Linked DNA regions of Homo sapiens: regions 1 and 3 are each linked to region 2. Evidence: promoter capture Hi-C in 16 types of primary human blood cells and fetal thymus (Javierre and others, 2016). All regions are on one chromosome and are shown on one strand. The core of a region is centred on a gene start or on the middle of the fragment in contact, and the rest is flanking DNA. Distances in the headings are between cores, read along the strand shown.

Evidence for each region. Contacts are between HindIII fragments. The CHiCAGO score rates a contact against its expected background, and 5 or more counts as called.
Region 1: a contact is called between the fragment with the promoter of HPN-AS1 here and a fragment that was not itself captured in region 2, in 3 of 17 cell types (total CD8 T cells, naive CD8 T cells and naive CD4 T cells). The highest score is 6.1, in total CD8 T cells.
Region 3: a contact is called between the fragment with the promoter of GAPDHS here and a fragment that was not itself captured in region 2, in 1 of 17 cell types (erythroblasts). The highest score is 8.8, in erythroblasts.

Annotation. Positions count from the first base shown.
Region 1 is chr19:35,104,856-35,107,555 of GRCh38, forward strand. It overlaps HPN-AS1 (HPN antisense RNA 1), which reads right to left and starts at 1,449. Exons shown (of 4, transcript NR_024562.1): 1 at 1,374-1,449. LOC124904701 (hepatitis A virus cellular receptor 1-like) reads left to right here. Exons shown (of 3, transcript XR_007067238.1): 2 at 1-1,981. The HindIII fragment of the contact is 15,680 bases long and covers 1-2,700 here.
Region 2 is chr19:35,307,856-35,310,555 of GRCh38, forward strand. It overlaps MAG (myelin associated glycoprotein), which reads left to right. Exons shown (of 11, transcript NM_002361.4): 8 at 2,019-2,306; 9 at 2,692-2,700. Among named protein-coding and RNA genes, the nearest start is that of MAG, 17 kb to the left of the region's middle. The HindIII fragment of the contact is 1,017 bases long and covers 788-1,804 here.
Region 3 is chr19:35,532,172-35,534,871 of GRCh38, forward strand. GAPDHS (glyceraldehyde-3-phosphate dehydrogenase, spermatogenic) reads left to right here and starts at 1,285. Exons shown (of 11, transcript NM_014364.5): 1 at 1,285-1,423. The coding sequence starts at 1,357. RefSeq lists an enhancer at 2,142-2,271. The HindIII fragment of the contact is 5,250 bases long and covers 1-2,700 here.

The DNA of each region.
Region 1 (2,700 bases), core at 199-2,698, 200 kb before region 2:
AAGGACGTGGATCCCCAGGTGCATGTGGAGAACTGCATCCATGACCTCTGTGCCACGGGGGGCTCAAGAGAGACTCTGTGTGCCATACTGGGGAGCTACGCCCAGGAAAGCCAGCAGCGCAGCGTTCCCATGCAGCCCTGGAGACACCTCTTGGCCTGCAGTAAGTGGGTATTCCCAGGGAGGGTCTTTCTCAGCCTGACCTCCCCAGCTGGCCCAATACCACTTCCAGGATGTCCTCCTAGGTCAACACCACCCAAAGTGACCCACTGCATGCCTTTCTGGCTAACTGTTCCCGCGAAGAACCTACCTGCTTAAAACTCTGCAATAACAATAACAGATGACACTGAGTGCTATTGCATCAGTCAGGATGGTCTGGGTTATGCTGAAGTAACGAACTAACCTGAACATGACCCAGCATGACCAAGGTTGTTTCTTCATCACTATCTTCGTCACCTTTGTCATCATCACAGTCACTATCATCATTACCGTCACCATCACCACCACCACCAGCGTCACCATCACCACCACCACCAGCCTCACCACCACCACCACCACCAGCATTACCATCATCACCACCACCACCATCACCACAAGCATTACCATCATCACTACCACCACCATCATTGTTACCACAACCACAACCATCACCACCATCACCATCATCATTGTTACCACAGCCACAGCCATCATCACCACTACCATCACCACCATCATCACCATCACCACCATCACCATCATCATCACCACCACCACCACCATCAACATCATCATCACCATCATAACCATCACCACCAGCATCACCATCACCACCAGCATCAGCATCACCATCACTACTATAATCACCATCACCATTATCACTACCACCACCATCATTGTTACCACAACCACAACTATTGTCATCACCACCACCACCACCCTCACCACTATCATCACTGTCACCATCACCGCTATCATTACCATCACCATCAACACCATCACATCACCAACAACATCACCAGCCCTACCACCATCATCATCATTACTATCACCACGACCACCACCACCACCATTATCACCACCATGATCACGCCACCAGCATTATCACCACCGTGACCACGCCGCCACCGTTAATCACCGCCGTGACCACGCCGCCACCGTTATCACCGCCGTGACCACGCCGCCACCGTTATCACCGCCGTGACCACGCCGCCACCGTTATCACCGCCGTGACCACGCCGCCACCATTATGCTACATCCTGATGATGCCTCCACCTCCCCTCCTTTGCCTTTATGACTTACCCTTGGCCCCCACAACCCTCTCTCCGCTCCCTTGGTCCTATTCTGGTTGGAAATGCTCCAGAATAGTAATGCTTGCTCAATTATTTAACTCCTACCTGTTTTCTTCCAGAGCTGGCCTGTCCTCCCCGCAGCAATTACGAGCTCTGCGGCTCCTCCTGTCCTAGCTCTTGTGCCGAGCCTGCCCTGCCCGACAGCTGCCTGACACCATGCCAGGATGGCTGCCAGTGTGACCCAGGCTTTGTGCTCAGTGGCATGGACTGCGTGCCCCCAATCCAGTGCAGCTGCTCCATGGGGGGCAGGTACCACCACCCGGCTGGGGAGGCCTTCTGGACTGGGGAGCGCTGTGAGCAATTCTGCCACTGCCAGGCCTCCACCCACGCCGTGTGCTGCTCCCCGTCCTCCTGTGGGCCGGGGCAGAGATGTGAGACCCTCAGGGGCATCTTTGGGTGCCACCCACTCTCCCCTGGCATTTATCAAGCAACCATGCACTCACACGTCGCCTCCTTTGACCGGAAGAGTGTTGAGTTTCCAGGCACTTGCGCTTCTGCTTTTACCAAGTCCTGTGGCTCCTCCAGCTCATTGCGCCTTTTCAAGGTGGAAATTGGGAAGGAGAAACAAGTCCAGCAGTCCCATTGTGTTCATTTCAAAGATGTAGGTTCATGGGACCCAGGTTTGTCTGCAGAGAGAGCCCCGACCTGATGAGGTAAGCACTCATTGGCATCTAGAGACTCTTGAACCGATTGAAGCTAAAAGAAATACATTGGCTCAAACTAAGTAAAAATCATGTGATAGCCTAGTGAAAGTGTAGAGATTCTGGGTCCACAGAAGTTCCCTATATACCACTTTGGCTGTTTTGGTTACAGAAAGCCTCATAAAAGGTAACTCAAACCAGTCACAGACTGTGTTTTATGATTTTTAGACTAATTACATAACTGAAAATTCCAGAGGGAGATCAGGCATGGTTTGATCAGGGTGCTAACTCAGTTTTTCAGCATTTCTCTTGGTCTGTGTTTCTCTATAGCATTAGCTTTGTCCTCAGGCTGGCTTTTCTTGTGATGGCAAAATAACTGCCAATTTTCCAGTCATTAAATGTGTATTCCCCATTGTCCAAAACCCGAATCTTTTCTTACCCCAAGTACTCAACAAAAATTCCAATGCTTCACTTTGATTAAACCCCACTGAGCCAATCAGTGCAGCCCAGAGGTTTTCTTAAGCCTATCTAATCCTACTCAGGAGTTGTAGGTGGGAGAGATCCTGCCCCTACCCCCCATCTCTGGCAGCTACTTCTTGCAGGGAGAGAGGGCAAAATGGGAATCCACCCCTGTGTCCCTATGTCCCCCGAAACCAGTATTTCTTCTTAACAATCTTCAAAGAGTGTAAATGCCCTGGTAAACCTCCACTCTGAGACCTGAAACTTTTGTC
Region 2 (2,700 bases), core at 46-2,545:
GTGAGGAAGGGCCGGGGTTCAAGGCGGCTTTAGGGGAGGAAGTGGGGGGCATCTGCAGCGCAGACTGAAAGGAAGGAGCACAGCCTGGAAGCCAGAAAGGAGGGGATAGTCTAAGCCTGTGTGAGCCCCAAGGGTCTGGGGAGGCCGGGGGCTGGGAGAGTTCCATGGTTCCTCCCTTCTACGTGTGGGGCCCAGAGTGGAGAAGGAGCAAGCCCCTGTCTTGATGGAAACAGGAGGCCCCTTATGTAAGTGTGTGATGCAGGGAGGGTGAGTGCTGGGGAGGAGAACTGAGTGAGGCAGGGAGTGAATGATACGTGGAGCGAGGTGCAGCTTCCCTGGGTGGTCAGAGAAGGAGACGCCGCATGGGTAGAGGCCAGTTTGGAGCGAGGGAGGGCGTTCCACAGGCAACTGATGGAAGTGTTCCAAGTTGAGGGAGAAACGTACAGACCCTGGAGTGGGAGAAAGCTCCACGATTTTCAGACACAGCAAGGAACCGGTGTGGCTGGAAAGGACTAAGCCAGGGGGAGAGAAGGAGAGAGTGTGTGGTCAGGCAGGGCCTGAGGGGCCTTGTAGATGAAAGACTTTGTATTTTGGGCTGGGCACAGTGGCTTGCGCCTTATAATCCCAGCACTTTGGGAGGCCAAGGCAGGAGGATTGCTTGAGCTCAGGAGTTCAAGACCAGCATGGGGAACATAGCAAGACCCTGTCTCTACAAAAACAAACAAAAACCCTCCAGTAACTATCATGAGTATGACAGATTTACCGTCCTCTGCAATTCTGAACATAAAGCTTTAAAATCAAAAGGCTTTTTGCAAATTTGGCACCACCCTGATTTGACAGCAAAATCTCGCCTAAAGAACACAAGGCTGTTTGTAATCTATACTGATTTCATTTAGGGTGAATATTCGTACTTTTTGCTGTATACATTACATTGAACTATGTGAAATTTTTTCTGCATGTCAAAAATGGTCAAATGTGGCTGGGCGCAGTGGCTTATGCCTGTAATCCCAGCACTTTGGGAGGCTGAGGCGGGAGGATCACTAGAGGCCAAGAGTGCAAATGAGCTATAGTACTGCCACTGCACTTCAGCCTGGGCGACAGGGCCAGACCCTGTCTCTAAACGATAAAAAATAAAGGATTTGTATTTTAGGTGAACCACGGAGCAACAGAAGGAGGGTTTTGAGCAGAGAGTGCCATGATCTGATTTATGTATTACAAGGTGAATGAGGTTAGAGAGAGTGTAAGAGCCAGGGCCCAGGAGAAACGGCCCGTCCCTGTGACATAGTGCTCTGTCCAGGCTGAAGCTGAGGCTAGAGTCGCCTCAAAAGTGGCACCAGAAGAATTGCCCCAAGAGAGCACCCCAAACCACCCCGAAATGAGGCCACTTGGGATTCCAAAGAGAGAGGCACTAAACCACCAGGTGATCATCAGTCCAAAGCATTTGGGAGGGGAACTTGCACAGTGCTACGGCGAGAGAAAGGGAGGGTCTACCCAGACACGTCCGTGAGGGTCAGGGTATGGGTTTACATGAGGGTTTAAGGAATTTGGCCCAGGGCTGGGGCTGGTTTCTTTCATTCTTTCATTTTTGTTGTTGTTGTTGTTTGGGGTTTTTTTGAGACAGCGTCTCATTCTGTAACCTCTCGTACTCCTGACCTCAAGTGATCCACTCACTCTTCGGCCTCGCAAAGTGCTAGGATTACAGCAGTGAGCCACCATGCCCGGCCTCTTTCAGTGTTTTGAGCAACAACCTAAACACCTTTATCAGTGCCTGGGAATGTTCAAGGCCCCAGGCGTGGGTTAGTGAAGCTTGCAGTGAAAACAGGCAGCCGGCGGGGTCGTAGTGAGGTCAAGGCGCTCTCAGTCAGGACAGAGAAAAAAGGAGGGGAAATTGGAGGGCCCTACAGGAAGCTACCGCCCCCATCCTTGGCCACACTGGCCTTGCCTTGAGCCAAGGAGTCTCCGGGGCCGGGCCTCGCGTTGGCTCCGGGCCACCCTCAGACCTGATTTTGCCCCTGCAGTCGCCCCTGTGCTCCTCCTGGAGTCCCACTGCGCGGCAGCCCGAGACACGGTGCAGTGCCTGTGCGTGGTGAAGTCCAACCCGGAGCCGTCCGTGGCCTTTGAGCTGCCATCGCGCAATGTGACCGTGAACGAGAGCGAGCGGGAGTTCGTGTACTCGGAGCGCAGCGGCCTCGTGCTCACCAGCATCCTCACGCTGCGGGGGCAGGCCCAGGCCCCGCCCCGCGTCATCTGCACCGCGAGGAACCTCTATGGCGCCAAGAGCCTGGAGCTGCCCTTCCAGGGAGCCCGTGAGTGGCGTGGACTTGGGGTGGGAGCCACAGGAGGGAGCGGGCACGTCTTAGATCCAAGCTCCCAAGGCTGACCAACAGCCACAGAGCATGGGCTATGCAGATTGACAGAAAGGTCAAATTCTCCCTTTCCGGTTGGAGAGGAGAAGCCGCCCTGAGTTTGCCCCGAGTTTGCTAGGACCTTTGAGGCATGAGCCCCTCCCCAGGGCCCTCTAGCATGAAAGGGATTGCCCTGGCACGAGGAGGCTCCGTGCCAATCAGTCAGTGCAAGGATGCCCCGGCTGTGTGACTACATTGACTGTCATCCCAGCATGTCTCCAAAGTTCTCAGGTGTCGTCACCACCACCCATAGCCCTAAGGGCGCCTGGGTCTTTTCTGTCCTCAGATCGACTGA
Region 3 (2,700 bases), core at 35-2,534, 220 kb after region 2:
TTGCTCTGTCTCCCAGCTGGAGTGCAGTGACACAATCACAGCTCACTGCAGCCTTGACCTCCTAGGCTCAAGTGATCCTCCCACCTCAGCCTCCCTAATAATTGGGACAACAGGCATGCACCACCACACCTGGCTACTTTTTTTATTTTTTGTAGATACAGGGTTTTGCCACATTGCCCATGTTGGTCTCAAACTCCTGGACTCAAATGATCCTCCCACCTCAGCCTCCCAAAGTGTTGGGATTACAGGCATGAGCCACTGCGTCCAGCCCACAAACACCTTTCAGGTGCCAAACACTTTTCTTGTCAATGGGATACAGAAGTGACATAGATGACGTCCCTGTCCTCTCAGAGCTTACAGTCTGGTGGACAGAGACAGTTGGCAAGAAAACAAACAATTTTTAGAGAGACATGTGCTCTAAGGAAAATAAAAACATAGACAGTGTAGCCCTAGAGAAATTTTGCACACTGAAGCATAACTCAGAATGGAGAAGTCAGACAAGGCTTCCTGGAAGATGGGCAGAAATTGGGAAGGGGGTGACGGCTGACAGTGACAGAGAAAGGAGGGAACTTAGATGCAGAGTGTAGAAAGCCTCTCTTAAAGGGTGGGAAACCAAGAGGCAGCCAAGGGAAGCCCTGGGTGGGCCTTCCAGGCATACGGAGGCAGCAAGAGTCACTCCACTGGAGAATCCAAGGGACAGCATGGAACCTGTGTGCTTCAAGAGACAGAGAAGAGGAAAGGGCTTTCAGGAACAGTGTAAAAGGTGGGATTCCAGGCTGGGTGTGGTGGCTCGCTCCTGTAATCCCAGCATTTTGGAAGGCCGAGGTGGGAGGATCGCTTGAGCCCAAGGGTTCTAGACCAGCCTGAGCAAAAGAGTGAGACCCTCTCTCTACAAAAAAATAAAAAGTAAAAATAGCCTGCAGTGGTGGCTGCACATGTAGTCCCAGCTACTCAGGAGGCCGAGGCGGGAGGATCGCTTGAGCCCAGGAGTTCAAGGCTGCAGTGAGCCATGATTGCACCACTGCACTCCAGCCTAGGAGAAAGAGTGACACCCCGTCTCAAAATAAATAAACAAATGATAATTTTAAAAAGTGGGATTCCATTCCAGACGGCAGTGCGTGGCCGTGGAACGGTGATGCATAGCGTGCTGACGTCCCATGCCTCTACGGGGATGGGATGCGATGGTGTCAGGCCTCTGGCTTGGGCGCCGCCCCTCGGCGACGTCACTGGGTACTGTGACGTCACTGGGTGCTGTGACATCAGGGCAATTAGCCCAGGACCCACAGCCCTGGCGCTCCGCACGCACCTCGGTAACATCACAGCAGGTCCAGGCCAATGATAACCTTATAAGAGGCCATGTCGAAGCGCGACATCGTCCTCACCAATGTCACCGTTGTCCAGTTGCTGCGACAGCCGTGCCCGGGTGAGGGAGGCAGCGGAGGGCGCGGGGGAGGGGTGGAAAGGGTAGTGGGGAGCGTCTGCACCCTCACACCTGTGCCGTATCCCTACCGCCCTTCCTGGCGTGTGCACCATCTAGGGACCAGGGGATCAGCCGCTCTCCCTCCCTCCACACCCGCCAGTGTGCTGGCAGAGTGGGGTTTACTGCCATGGCGGGGAGACCGGGCCTCCGCCCCCAGGGCTGGGTGGGCTTCGCGCCGCTATCACGCGGTAGAAAGAGCAGAAACGAGGGCCATCGGAGGCTGCAGCCTGAAAGTGGCGGGAAGTGGGCGGGCTTAGGAGGGGCTTAGGGAGAACCCAGGGGTGCTGGGCTTCCATGTAAAAGTGATGTTCATGGCGCTTCGCGTGAGGTGAGCTTTGCCCTCCCTGTGATGCACAAAACAAGGACACTTGGAACCTTGCCGGGGACGTGCTGACCACTTCGCAGGCGAGAGCTCAGGGAAGCCTCACCACCACCTGAGAAGGCCAGAGTGTGCCCGCAGTTTACAGAGCGGCCAACAGAGGTTAAGAGAGGGCAAACTACTTCCTTAGTCTCTCAACAAGGGCGGCGCGCCCGCGCGCGCGCACACACACACACACACACTCACTCACTCACTCTAGCCGGAGGAACCAGGTCTTCCGGTGGGCTGCCTCCATTCCCACACTGTTCCCTCACTTCCCAAGGGCGGGGGCCGCAGGGGTAGGTGGGGCTGGGGCTTTGGTCCAGGAGACCCTGGAAGACACAGGAGCAGACAGGCTTACCAGCCTCATGAGACTTGAACCCCTGCCCTGCGCATCACTGCTCCGTGGCCTCAGGCTTCATTTTCCCCTCTGTAAAGTGGGTTTATAGCGCATGCCTCTCGGGATTCAGTGGGAGGACGCAGTGAGGAGCTGGGGGCAGCACCCAGCTAGCCCCCAGGCTTTTCTCCAACCGGGGGACCCCACCCCTACAGTGGAGGGGAAGAGAGTGCAAGGCTGGGAGTGCTGGGAGAGGAGGACCATCTGAGTTTTCTTCGGAAGGGTCACCCATTGGGCTCAGATTCCCACCTGAACCAGGTGGACAAATCCCCTTTCTCCCATAGCAGAAACAACCCCCAAGGATGCAAACATCCTCAAGTTCACCAATAAACACTAACACCTTCATGAACTTGGACAGCCACTGGAAACACCTATAGTCCAGCCTCAGGCCACAAGGTCTGTGGCAACAGGGAGAGGTCAGGGAGACAGACAGGCCAGCTGGCCCCCGGCTCCCAGCCCCACCAC